Regions from separate parts of the Homo sapiens genome. Here regions 2 and 3 are each linked to region 1. Evidence: promoter capture Hi-C in human tissues and cell types (Jung and others, 2019). All regions are on one chromosome and are shown on one strand. Each heading gives the region's core, a stretch centred on a gene start or on the middle of the fragment in contact. The rest is flanking DNA. Distances are from core to core; before and after follow the strand shown. Region 1 holds the start of PLEKHO2 (pleckstrin homology domain containing O2). Region 2 has its middle 4.6 kb from the start of USP3-AS1. Region 3 overlaps HERC1 (HECT and RLD domain containing E3 ubiquitin protein ligase family member 1).

Region 1 (4,055 bases), core at 1,126-3,625:
GACAAGAGCTACCAGCCTGCCCGTTGCATAGAGGAGGTCACTGAGGCTGAGGGACCTTGGCCCAGGGTGGCCGGGCACAGGGAGGAAGCTGAAAGCTAGCAGGAGGGCTGAAAGCAGCCATGTGAAAGAGATGATGAAGATGGCCTGGGATCATGGGGCAGAGCATGTGGCTATGACCTAAGAGGTGTTTTAGAGAAACAAAGATGGGCACTGAGGCCTAGTGCAACAAGCGGAAGCTACTGGGAGAAGTGGGAGGAAAGCAGAGTTAGGGATGCCAAAGGGGAGTAGGGAAAGGAAGCCCCTGCTGTGGGGGTGAGGCTTGCAGGGGCTTGGGTAAAGTGGACAAGAACTTAGATGGCCCAGATATTTAGAGAGCTTTGGGCATCTAGGAGTCAGAAAGTGGCAATATAGGCTGGGTGCAATAGCTCATGCCTGTAACCCCAACACTTTCGGAGGCCGAGGCAGGCGGATCACCTGAGGTCAGGAGTTCGAGACCAGCCTGACCAACATGGAGAAACCCCATGTCTACTAAAAATACAAAATTAGCCAGGCGTGGTGGTGCATGCCTGTAATCCCAGCTATTCAGGAGGCTGAGGCAGGAGAATTGCTTGAACCCAGGAGGTGGCGGTTGCGGTGAGCCAATATCTCGCCACTGCACTCCAGCCTGGGCAACAAGAGCGAAACTCCGTCTCAAAAAAAAAAAAAAAGAAAAGAAAGTGACAATGTGAGAGATTCAGGACCAAGGGTGTACAGAGCTGAGCCGGGCCCAGGAGGTGTCCGGAGAACTTCCCTTAATCAGGGGCCAGCGCAGATCAGGAGATGGAGTAATCCTGACCCACATCCTCTGGGAGCAGGGGAGGGGCCCTGGCCAGAGAGCCCAGCCCTTGCAGCAGGGGCCTGGGGCAGGCAGATGGCAGCCCCACCTAACAGCCAGAAAGAAACCGCAGCAAATCACAGAGGCCTGACTTTGCCCCCTACCTTCACCCACTGAGAGAACCGGCCACTGTCAGGCCAGGAGTATGAGGAGGACAGGCACTATATTTTGTAGAAGAGGAAATGAAGGCTGAGAGGGGAAGTGACTTATCTACCATCCCACAGAAAGGCAGGGCCTGGCCTAGAGGGAGCCCTGACGGACCACTAGCTGCTCCTATCCATGGCCCTGGAAAAGTGGGAGGTGGGCACTGAAGGGACACAGGCAGTCCGGTCCACTCAGGGCTTCCCAGCTGGCCAGGGTTCCCCCAAGGCAGAGAACTTCATCTTTCCTCCCCATCCAAGGAGGCAAAGACATGCCCCTTCCCTTGGGCTGAGAGGGGCTGAAGCTGGGACCCCCTCAGGGGATAAGAAACAAATTCACCTTCCTCTAGACCCAACAGGCCCCTCATTTTAACTTAATCATTCCACAGGCATATATTAAGTGCTTGCTGCGTGCTGGACCCTCGGATAAAGCGGCTGCTGGCAGAACTGAGTTTGCAAGTAAAGGGCAGGGGCAGGGGCAAGACCCAATCCCAGGCCAAGAGTGTTTTGAGTGGTTAGAAGGAGGCTCCAGGGACACAGTTGGTCCAGCCCTCGGGTGGGGAAGGCAGGGACTAAGATCAGACCCTAGGTGGGCCGGACTCCCGATTCCTTCCCTACAGCTAGCTGCTCAGATGGATGTGGAGCGGGGAGAGAGTGGGGGAAAAGATACAGAGACTTATACAAGGGAGAAAAAAGCAACTTCTCCAATCCTCCTGCCACCAAAGCATGGTCACATCCTTGAGACAGGAACCCCCCAACACACACATACACACACACACAGAGTCAGGATCCGATCCTTGAGACAGGAACCCCCCAACACACACATACACACACACACACAGTCAGGATCCGACACACACACACACACACACACACACACACACAGAGAGAGAGAGAGAGTCAGGATCCGACCACGGTAATCGGGGTTCGAGCCCAGTCACCCAGGCCACTTTCAGCAAGTCATCAATCTCGCTGGAGTCTCAGTCTCCTGGTCAATCCAATGGGAACGGTAACAACCACGACGCCCCACAACTGGTGAGAAAGTCAGCGAGAATGAAGGAGGACGCGGTCTGCGAAGTCCCCGATATGGATCCAGCCCCTCGCCCCTGCCCCATTTGCCCAGGCTCTTCCTGAGGTGAGACTGGCGGGAGTGGGGCGGGCAGGAACGAGGGCCTGAGCCCAGGACCGCAATCCCCGTGAGGGGCTCGAGGACCCCAGCCCAACGCCCCGCCGGGCCCCGCCCTCACCTCCTCCTCCATGGCGAGTCCGCCGAGGTCCCGCCGCTCCGCCACTCGCTTCCAGCGCCGCGCGGGCTCTGCCACCGCGTCTACGCCCGGCCAGGCGGCGACTCTCCGCGTTCTGTCCCGCCGGCTGCCGGGGGCCCAAGAAACTTCGGGGGGGCGGGGCCGGGGGCGGGGTGAGGCTTCCGGGGGCCGGGGCGGGGCCGGGGAGGGGGCGGTGGGGCCGGGGGCCCGGCCCAGGGCGGGAAATGGGTGGGGAGGGGCGGGGCCTGGGTTGGAGACTGGACGGAGGAGCCGGGCGGAGATGCAACTGGAGGAAGAGGGCGGGACGGGGCGGAGAAGGTTTCCCGCATCGGCGGAGGGAGAGGGACTAGGAGGGGGCTGCGGCGGGGGAGGAGAGGGGGCTTCCGGCCCAGAGACTGAGGCGAGGGTGGCGGGAGCGGCGCGCAGGCAGGGCTGGGGTGGGGCGCACACAGTGAGCGCTGGGGGCGCTGGCGGTGGAGCCTTTGAGGTCTCCCGAACCAGTGGGCTGGGGTTGCGAGACCGAGCCGAGCTGCCCTGGGCGGCCAGAGATGTGGGCACACAGAGGCTCCTCCTCTTTCCTCCCCGACGCCGGGCAGTGGGCGGTGGCCTGGTCTTCTCCCTGGAACCTCTGGGCGGGGCCGGGCCTGGAGCTTGGGTCTCTGTCCGGAGGGTGGTGTCACAGGAAGAGCTGGAGCTGAGAGTCGGGACTCCGGGGTCCCTTTAGGGGGCGGCCCGCCCCTGGCTCTCAGGGGTCTCCAAGCGCAGTGTTCTCCTGCTCTCCTTGGGCATCGCTCAATCCCTCCCGTATCTGAGGGTCGACCATCCCCCCGATCCCGCGGTGAGCTTGCAGCCCTGACAGCCTTACTGGAGAGTGGGAGTGTGGGGACCAGCAGAGAGTAATGATTTTAGTTATACCATGCGCCCTCATTTTACATTGGAGAAACTGAGGCCCAGAGAGAGAAAGTAACTGGCTGCATCGCAGCCTGCAGCACCGCTCCCCTCTCACACACACACGCATACTCCCCCTTAGCTCTCCTGGTCAACCCCGTCCCATGCCAAGGAAGGGAAAATTAAGTGCATGTGAGATCAATGGTGACCTTCTTCGGCTCTGGCTGCCATAGCAGCGGCTGTGCCAGCGACCAAGCTCCCCTTTCACGGCCTTCTGCCAGCCCTCAGGCTCCCAGGCTACTTCCAGCCCTGTACGGAAAAGGGCAGCCTGGGGCTCCCAGGCCAAGGGGGAAGGAGATGCAGGTACACTTCTCCCTCATGCCTAGGCCTGGGATCCTTTAGCTAAAGGAATGAAGAAAATTGAGGCTGATATTATCACACTGGTCAAGAAAAAGAAAGAATAGAAAAGAAAGAGAGAGGAAGGAGAGAGAGAGGAAGGAGGGAGGGAAGGAAGGAAAAAAGGAAAGAAAGAAAAAGAAAAGAAAGAGAAATGAAGGAAGGAAAGAAAGAAAAGAAACAAGGAAGGAGAGAGGAAGGAAGGACGGAGGGAAGGAAGGAAAGAAAAGAAAGAGCTGGGAGCGGTGGCTCACACCTGTAATCCCAGCACTTTGGGAGGCTGAGGCAGGCTGATCACCTGAGGTCGGGAGTTCAGACCAACCTGACCAACGTGGAGAAACCCCGTCTCTACTAAAAATAGAAAATTAGCCAGGCGAGGTGGTGCATCCCTGTAATCCCAGCTACTTGAGCGGCTGAGGCAGGAGAATCGCTTGAGCCCGAAAGGCGGAGGTTGCAGTGAGCTGAGATCACGCCATTGCACTCCAGTCTGGG
Region 2 (4,055 bases), core at 1,162-3,661, 1.2 Mb after region 1:
GCAGTCAGTAGCATCGTTGAAGGGCTTTGGGCTTGAAGCCCTCCTGCTCGGGGTGGGAAGGCCCTGCCTGGGCCTCTGGACCAGGAGAGAATTTAAGAAAAGAAAGGCTCACGCCTGTAATCCCAGCACTTTGGGAGGCCGAGGCGGGTGGATCACAAGGTCAGGAGATCGAGACCATCCTAGCTAACATGGTGAAACCCCGTCTCTACTAAAAATAAAAAAAATTAGCTGGGCATGGTGGTGGGCACCTGTAGTCCCAGCTACTCAGGAGGCTGAGGCAGGAGAATGGCATGAACCCGAGAGGCAGAGCTTGCAGTGAGCCAAGATCGCGCCACTGCACTCTAGCCTGGGCGACAGAGTGAGAAAAAAAAAAAAAAAAGCATCTGTGCTGCCAAGATCCTGGACGAATCCAGGAGAGGCCTCTTAGGGTCTTCTGAGCCGCTTCCTGCGTCCCTCTTGCTGAGCTGGGCTGAGGACATGCAGAGCAAAGGATACCTCTGCAGTCTCTAAATTCAAAATAATGCCTCACCCTGTGCTGCTGCCACAGTTTGCTCTGGACTCGGGGGCAGGAGGACCCCCAGAAGGCTGGCACTCATGGTTGCAGGTCCTGGGCTCAGGGCTAACAGACAGCAGCTCAGGTTTGACCCTGTGAGGGGAATCTGCACAGTGCCATGATTTTATAACACACACTGTTTCGTTGCCAGAAACTGTTATTTCCTCATTGTCTTGACTATGTTTTCATTTTTGCAGAGACAGGGTCTCACTATGTTGCCCAGGCTAGTCTGGAACTCCTGGCCTCAAGCAGTCCTTCCACCTTGATCTCCCAAAGTGCTGGGATTACACACATGAGCCACTGTGCCCGGCCTCTCTTGACTTTTTGAAAACTCTGGAAAGGGGGAAGCACAAGTCCCTGATCTGAGGAGCTGAAGTGGGCCTGGTGCAGGTGCTTCCCTTGGTTTACTTTCAGCTCTTAGAGAGGCTTAGGCAGTTGTTTGCTGGCCTCATTCACTTAACAGATACTTGCAGTTTTTATGACCCTTAAGCAGCCTCAAGCAAACGTTGACCATCAGTTTTTAAAATTTAAGATTTCTCCAGACATCCTTCAAAGTATGGCTTTGTTCTGGGCCTCCTAGCTTTGTGGCCTTTGCCCAGGACTTCTGGCCGGATGAAGCCCACATCTTGTGAGCTTGGTTTTTAGCCAAAAGCAGATCTTGGGCATTGAATCCTAGAGCTGGAGGGAAAGTCTCTAAGGGGTCAGATGATCTCTGCCTTTATAAACCAAGAATCCAAGGTCAGGAGAGGGAAAGTTGGATCATAGGTGTGCCCCGACTAGAACTGGGAGCCTCTGCTTCCTGTCAGCGTGCCGTGGTAGAGCCGGGGTGGCTCAGTCACTTCCCCTCCGAACACTCATCCTGTGCAGAAACAGGCCAGTGTGTCTCTGTAAGACAAGCCTCAGAGCACCACCTCCTGCTAGCAGCCTGCTGCCTCCTGGGGGAGATCTGGAACCCTGACCTAAGAGCCTGTGGCCCTGGTCTCTCTGCCGGCACTGGGGCTCCTATGCAGACCAGTGCAACGTGGTGACAGGTCAGCCTTCAGCCAGGGAGCAGTGTCCTGCCCCAGTGGTGAGGTTCTGTTCTCTCCCACCACCTTCACCTGCAAGTGACCATTCGCTGCCTTGGCCAAACCTTAGAAAGAGTTAGCATTGCAGGAGTTGAGGGATGTCTATGATCTAATAGAGGCTGTGAGGGCATAGATAATCCCAAACCATTTCTGGGTGGCTCGGGAATACAATCAGGCTTCCATCAGCCCTGGCTCACCCCTTCCCTGGATATGCCTTGGGCTTCTTGACCTTTGCCTTTGCTGTGCCATGCCTGCCAATGGAAATATTCTCCTTAACGGTTGGAACCTGTGGCCCAGCTCAAAAGCTCTGTCTGCCACAAAGGGTGCCTGGCTTACCCACAGATAGACCTGGCTTGCTTCTTCCCAGTGCCTGGGATTTGTGTGTTGTGCCAGGCACTCAGCTTTTCTAGCCCCCCAAGGATATGAGGATACCTCCCCCTATCCCCCAGTCCCAAGAGGGTATTGGTCCCATTTTACAAATAAAGAAACGGAGGCTCAGAGAGGTCATATCTCGTCAAAAGCTATGAATGGCAAAGCTTGGAGATCACTCAAGAACACCCCCTCAACCTCAGCTGCATGTCTTCTAACTAGGGCTGAGTCACTCCAGGTAGGGCCTGGCCCAGCCCATGGCCAATACCCAGTAAATGCTTGTGAGATGAATTAGTTGGTGGATTAATTAAGTCTGCAGGGCTCTTTGTTATATGCTAACCTAAGTTTGAAAGGATTTTTCTTTTGTTTTTTACTTTTTTTTTTGTTTTTGAGACGGAGTCTTGCTCAGCTGCGCAGGCTGTGCAGTGAGTGCAGTGGCCCGATCTCGGCTCACTGCAACCACTGTCTCCCGGGTTCAAGCGATTCTCCCATCTCAGCCTCCCAAGTAGCTGGGATTACAGGCACCCGCCATCATGCCTAGCTAATTTTTGTATTTTAGAAGAGAGTTTTTCACCATGTTGATCAGGCCGGTCTTGAACTCCTGACCTCAGGTGATCCGCCCGCCTTGGCCTCCCAAAGTGCTAGGATTACAGGCGTGAGCCACTGCACCTGGCTGTTTTTTACCTTTTAATTTAGTGGGGAAGGGGCACGGAGATTCCATGCCCTCCCTGGACACACCACCCTCCAGGAACCTCCATGCATGTAGCTATCTGGAAGCTCCAAAAGTGGTTTTGTAGATTAAGTGAGGTATTGCGCTCTGTTAAGTGTTTTGCTCATGCCTGGTGGTGAACAGTGTCTGTTAGAAGGCAGAGTGGAGAGCCATGTGTCTCCATCAGTGCCCACCTTCTGGGGGCACCTAAAATGACCCTTCACTTCAGAACCCAAAGCTCCTCTGGCTAAGGTGGGGGCCAATTTGGGTCCCTAGAAACAGCACTGGACACAGCTGCCAGCACTGCTTGAGTTCTGTGATCACTATGTCTTGGGATGCAGGGGAGTTAGTTGGCATTGGAGGGTTAACTGGGAACTTAACCCTTACTACAAAAGAGCTTCCATGGGAAAGGGGGGTTGTCGGGGAATGCAGGTTACCCCATTCTAGCTCAACCTATAGTGACCCCTGCTTTACATAATCACAGTCCTTAAAAGAACCCCAAAAGCAAGGTTCCCTTGTTATCCTTAGTACTCAGATAAGAAAACAGGTTTGGAGAGGGCCAATCTGTCCTTGGTCACAGAGCTAGAAAGTGAGGGAAATGGGATGGAAACCCAGATCCATTAGATCCTGAAGCCAGGATCCTGTTGTTGTCCAGGCTAAGCCACCAATTTAGGACAAATAGAACATACTAGAAATTGGGGCTTTTTGGAGAAGATGAAAACAAAGGCCTGGGGTTTAAGTGGCTCTGTTGTAGACAAACATTCAACCCCCTGGAAGCCTGAGCTTGCTTTCAACAGTGTTCAGAGTAATGGGAGAAAAATTCGTTCCCAACAACGCCTCTCCAGAGTGCAAAGCAATGGTGGGCAAACTGAGAAATCACCAAAAAGCAGCCTGTGTCTCACAGGCTAGTAGCAGAGTCCTGCCACTCCACTGCAGCTGGTGGTGTGACAGAGCTGGCTCTCCTGACAAAGGGATTATGCTGGGCCAGGGCTTACTGTGGCTACCCTGTTTCTGGAGTAAGCACTGCCCCAGCCCGGAGCCCTTTGGCAGTCCCCAGAAGGGCTGGTGTGGGACAGGGTGCTGCTTGCCTGTCCACATGTTCTGCCTGGAACAAAATCCAGGGCCGCTGGGACTTCACCTATCATCTGTGCATGGCGCCCTGGTTCCTTCTGGGGGTAGGTTGGGCTGAGGGGGAACCTTCATCTCTCATTTCTTCCTCACATTAATCTGTCCATCCACTGCTACCCCCATCCCTTACCATAACCAAACAAAGCAGGTGCAGATGCTTGAATTAACAAGAACGAAGTCTAGTAATAAAAAGCAAATTTATTACCCAAAACTAGTAAAGGGGGAAGTA
Region 3 (4,055 bases), core at 971-3,470, 1.1 Mb after region 1:
GAGTGGCTTTCTTGGTTTCTTTAAGAACTTTCCCTTTGTATTGCAACTTGGCTAACTGGCGCAAGAGGCTTAGCTTTTGGCCTGCCTTCCTCACTAAACTTAATCATTTCTGGCTTTTGATTTAAAGTGAGGGACATGGTGTCTTCCTTTGTCTTGAACACTTAGAGGCAATTGTAGGGTTATTAGTTGGCCTAATTTCAATATTGTTGTGTCTTAGGCAATAGGGAGTCCCAAGGGTAGGGAGACTGGGGAATGGTTGGTTGGTAGAGCAGTCAAAACACGTACCATTTATCGATTAAGTTTGCCATCTTATATGGGTGTGCTTTGTGGCACCCCCAAACAATTACAATAATAACAATCAAAGCTTGCTGATTACAGGTTACCATAACAGTTATAATAATAATGAAAAGTTTGAAATATTGTAAGAATTACCAAAATGTGACACAGATACATGAAGTGAACACGTACTTTTGGAAAAATGGCACCAATACACTTGCTCAAATGAGGGTTGTCATAAACCTTCAATTTGTAAAAAAGATGCAGTATCTGTACAGCACAGTAAAGTCAAGTGCAATAAATGAGGTATGGCTGTATTTAAGTCTCTATTACTGTGGTTGCCATTCTTCCTATATTCTCTGTGGTTTCCGCTTCATTGTTTTATAACTCTGCTTGTAGTAAAATAAAACTGTTTGTGACAGTTTTATTAGTGATTATACTGTTCATCATTACCAAGTAACCCTTTTTGTCCCATTTATTACCTAACAGATGATACTTTTTCTGTTTGCATTTGTTTGTTATATCATTACCCTACATTTTATCTTCAACATTTTGAAATCACTTGTTTTAGATCCATCACTTAGGATATACATTTAAAAAATGATTTACTTATTAGATTTATAGTTATATACATTTAATTTATAGCAGAGATTATAAATTTTGGGCCATAACTACTTTCATATATGTTTTATTCAGTTAGCATATAGGTTATTATTATTTCACATCAGTCTTTATCTTTTGGTTTTAATAGGTGAATTTTACAGATGTTGATGTAGTAGCTGTGCTCGGTCTTACAGCTAACCTTTAGTCTCTGTTTTACCTTTTTTTTTTTGAAACGGAGTCTCATTGTGTTGCCCAGGCTGGAGTGCAGTGGCACGATCTTGGCTCACCGTAACCTCCGCCTCCCGGGTTCACACCATTCTCCTGCCTCAGCCTCCCGAGTAGCTGGGACTACAGGTGCCCACCACCACGCCCAGCTAATTTTTTTGTATTTTTAGTAGAAATGGGGTTTCACCGTGTTAGCCAGGATGGTCTCAATCTCCTGACCTCGTGATCCGCCCACCTCGGCCTCCCAAAGTACTGGGATTACAGGTATGAGCCACCGCGCCCGGCCTTCTGTTTTACCTTTTTAATACTTGCTTGTTTTCTTTCTTTATTTCCTGTTGTTAGATGGCCTCTGTTTCTTTGATTCATTTCCTGTTCTGTCTTTGTATAATTTTGGAAAATATATGGATTTACCCAGATGACTAGACAGCAGTAATTAACCAGAAATGGAAATGAGGAAATTCCATTCATAGTAATCACAAAATCAAAAATACTTAAGAATCAACAGAAAAGCACAGGATTTATATGAAGAAAATCTAAAATAGGATAGGAGCAAATAGAAATGCATACTTTGTCCTTGGATGAACAAATTTCATAAAAATGTCTATTTTCTGAAAGTACATAAATCTAATGCAATTCAGATTGGAACCTCAATAGTGTGTTGGAAGGGATGGCATATAATTGAATAAAATAATCTTTTTTTTTTTTTTTTTTTTGAGATGGAGTCTCCCTCTGTCGCCAGGCTGGAGTGCAGTCTTGTGATCTCGGCTCACTGCAACCTCCACCTCCCGGGTTCGAGCGATTCTCCTGCCTCTGCCTCCCAAGTAGCTGGGACTACAGGCGCGCACCACCACTACTGGCTAATTTTTGTATTTTTATTAAAGACGGGGTTTCACCATGTTGGCAAGGATGGTCTCCATCTCTTGACCTCGTGATCCTCCCACCTCGACCTCCAAAAGTGCTGGGATTACAGGCGTGAGCCACCGTGCCTGGCCTGAATAATATCATCTTAAACTTTTGGGACTTGCCTTACCAGTCATCAGAACATTTATACATTTATAAGCCTATTGTAATCAAGTCACTGTTGTAAGAATAGACAAGTGGACCAGAATAGAGAATCCAGAAATAGATCCTGTTAGTGGAAAAGTGAGTTATTTTGTTGTTTAGATCTTCTGTTTTCTTATTTTTGTTCACTTGATCCATCTTGTACTAAGAGTGGTATATTCATGTCTCACGTTATTAGTGTTTCTATTTATGTTTCCTTGCATCTCCTGTAGTTTTTGCTTTATAAAAGCTGTGGCTGTGCTATTTTGTTTTAAAATAATGCCTGGCTAATTCTTTTGCTTTTTAAAGTAATTTCATCTCTTTGCTTGGAGGTCTTTAGGATTTTATCTTTGTCTTTGAAATATAATAGTTTTTCTAGGCTATTTCTTGGAGTTGATTGTCTGGGTTAATTTTCTCAAGTACCTTGTATATTGATTCAGATATTTTTTCTATTTTAGAAAGTTTTCTTGCATTGTAGCTATAAAACCAGCTCTGTTTTTGTTTGTTTTGTATTTTTCTTCCTCACGTAATCCAATAATATGAATATTATTCTTTTTTCTTATCTTTTTCTAATTATTTCTCTCACCCTTTTCATTTTTCTTTATGTCATTGAGTCTACTCTTCCTTGAACACTTTTATAATTCATTCTTCATTGCTGAGATAATTTTGCCTTTTTCTTCATATTTCTTTCCTGAGTTCAATTACCTCTTTCCCTTTCTTTCTTCCTTTCCTTTTCTTCTTTTTCTTTCTTTTTGTCTATTTCTGCTTTCAGTTTTTGAATTTTTGATTCAGGATTTTTCATATCATCATATGTTTCAGTTTATTTAATTTTGTTTGGATTGTTAACTTACACTTTGCTTTGTCGTCATCAGGGAATTTCCCTCAATTGATAAATGTAAAATTTAATTTTGTTTTGTTTTCTGCAATAGCTCTGTATGCACTTGAGTTTTCTCATGTTCGTTTTTGTGGTATCGAGTATTTTATAATATTCTTAATTTAATTGCATTCTCTTCAGTCAATATAGCAAAGTCCAAATACAATAGCAGAAATTTTGTTTGTTTTACTTGAGGAAAGGGTTGTTCTGTCTTCAATTTTATGGGTCTATTTTGCCTTGCAGGACACTAAATATTTCCCCTTTTTCTTCTTTTACCCTTCACCACTCAGTTGTTAAAGCATGCTTCTCTCTTCCTTTTTGCTTTTTCTTTCCTCTGCGTTTCAACAAATGCTTATTTAACACTTGTCTTTTTAAATTGCACCTGCTGTCTTAAACCGTGCCTTCTGCTTTAAATTAAATGTACTTTAAAATCTCTTCCCTGTAGTCTGTGCTCTGATCTGCCCAGATACTTTTCCAGTGTTTTCAGATACGGTGTGGATTTAATCTTTCTGGGAGTCACTCCAAATCATTTTTAGCCCCCTTCACTAGCCTTTCTCCTCTGTCTTTTCTGCAGTTTTTCTTAGTCTGCCTTTGCTTGCCACAAAGCCTTATGGCTGGATGGAGGTGAAAGCATGTACCCTGGATTGGTTGACTTTTTCTCTTTTTTATTTACAATTATTTGCAATTTTGGCATTCTGTATCTTCAAGTTATGCTACAGGTGTGGTTTGGTATAGAATTTAATTTTTCCTTCTTGTTTTTCTTAAATTTTGGGCAGATAGCTATGCAGCTGCCATTGTCTTCAACTATGTAGAAGTCCTGGATTACTTAATAAATGGTGTTGGTATAACTAGCCTTCTACCTGGAAACAATAAAATTGGACTCAGCTTGTCCTATATAGAGTGTATTAAACTTCCAGATGAATGTAGAATTTATTTTAATTCCAGATGGACTAAAGACTCAGGTTTTTAAAAAAAATCTCTCAAGAATATCAAGGTGGTTTTGTATAGGTGATTACCTATATAATCTAGAATTCAT

What was found. The method cuts DNA at HindIII sites, captures the fragments that hold promoters and counts their contacts. A contact is called where the count stands out against the background at its distance.
Region 2: a contact is called between a fragment that was not itself captured here and the fragment with the promoter of PLEKHO2 in region 1, in 1 of the 25 tissues and cell types used here (dorsolateral prefrontal cortex).
Region 3: a contact is called between a fragment that was not itself captured here and the fragment with the promoter of PLEKHO2 in region 1, in 1 of the 25 tissues and cell types used here (pancreas).

The regions. Positions count from the first base shown.
Region 1 is chr15:64,840,235-64,844,289 of GRCh38, reverse strand. PLEKHO2 (pleckstrin homology domain containing O2) reads right to left here and starts at 2,375. Exons shown (of 6, transcript NM_025201.5): 1 at 2,262-2,375. The coding sequence starts at 2,273. It also overlaps a transcript of LOC124903508 not described here. RefSeq lists enhancers at 1-119, 1,168-1,719, 1,752-2,275 and silencers at 2,083-2,522, 2,533-2,852. The HindIII fragment of the contact is 9,878 bases long and covers 1-4,055 here.
Region 2 is chr15:63,603,382-63,607,436 of GRCh38, reverse strand. It overlaps a transcript of FBXL22 not described here. Among named protein-coding and RNA genes, the nearest start is that of USP3-AS1, 4.6 kb to the right of the region's middle. The HindIII fragment of the contact is 8,176 bases long and covers 1-4,055 here.
Region 3 is chr15:63,777,775-63,781,829 of GRCh38, reverse strand. All of the region lies in intron 1 of HERC1 (HECT and RLD domain containing E3 ubiquitin protein ligase family member 1), which reads left to right. Among named protein-coding and RNA genes, the nearest start is that of HERC1, 54 kb to the left of the region's middle. The HindIII fragment of the contact is 4,733 bases long and covers 1-4,055 here.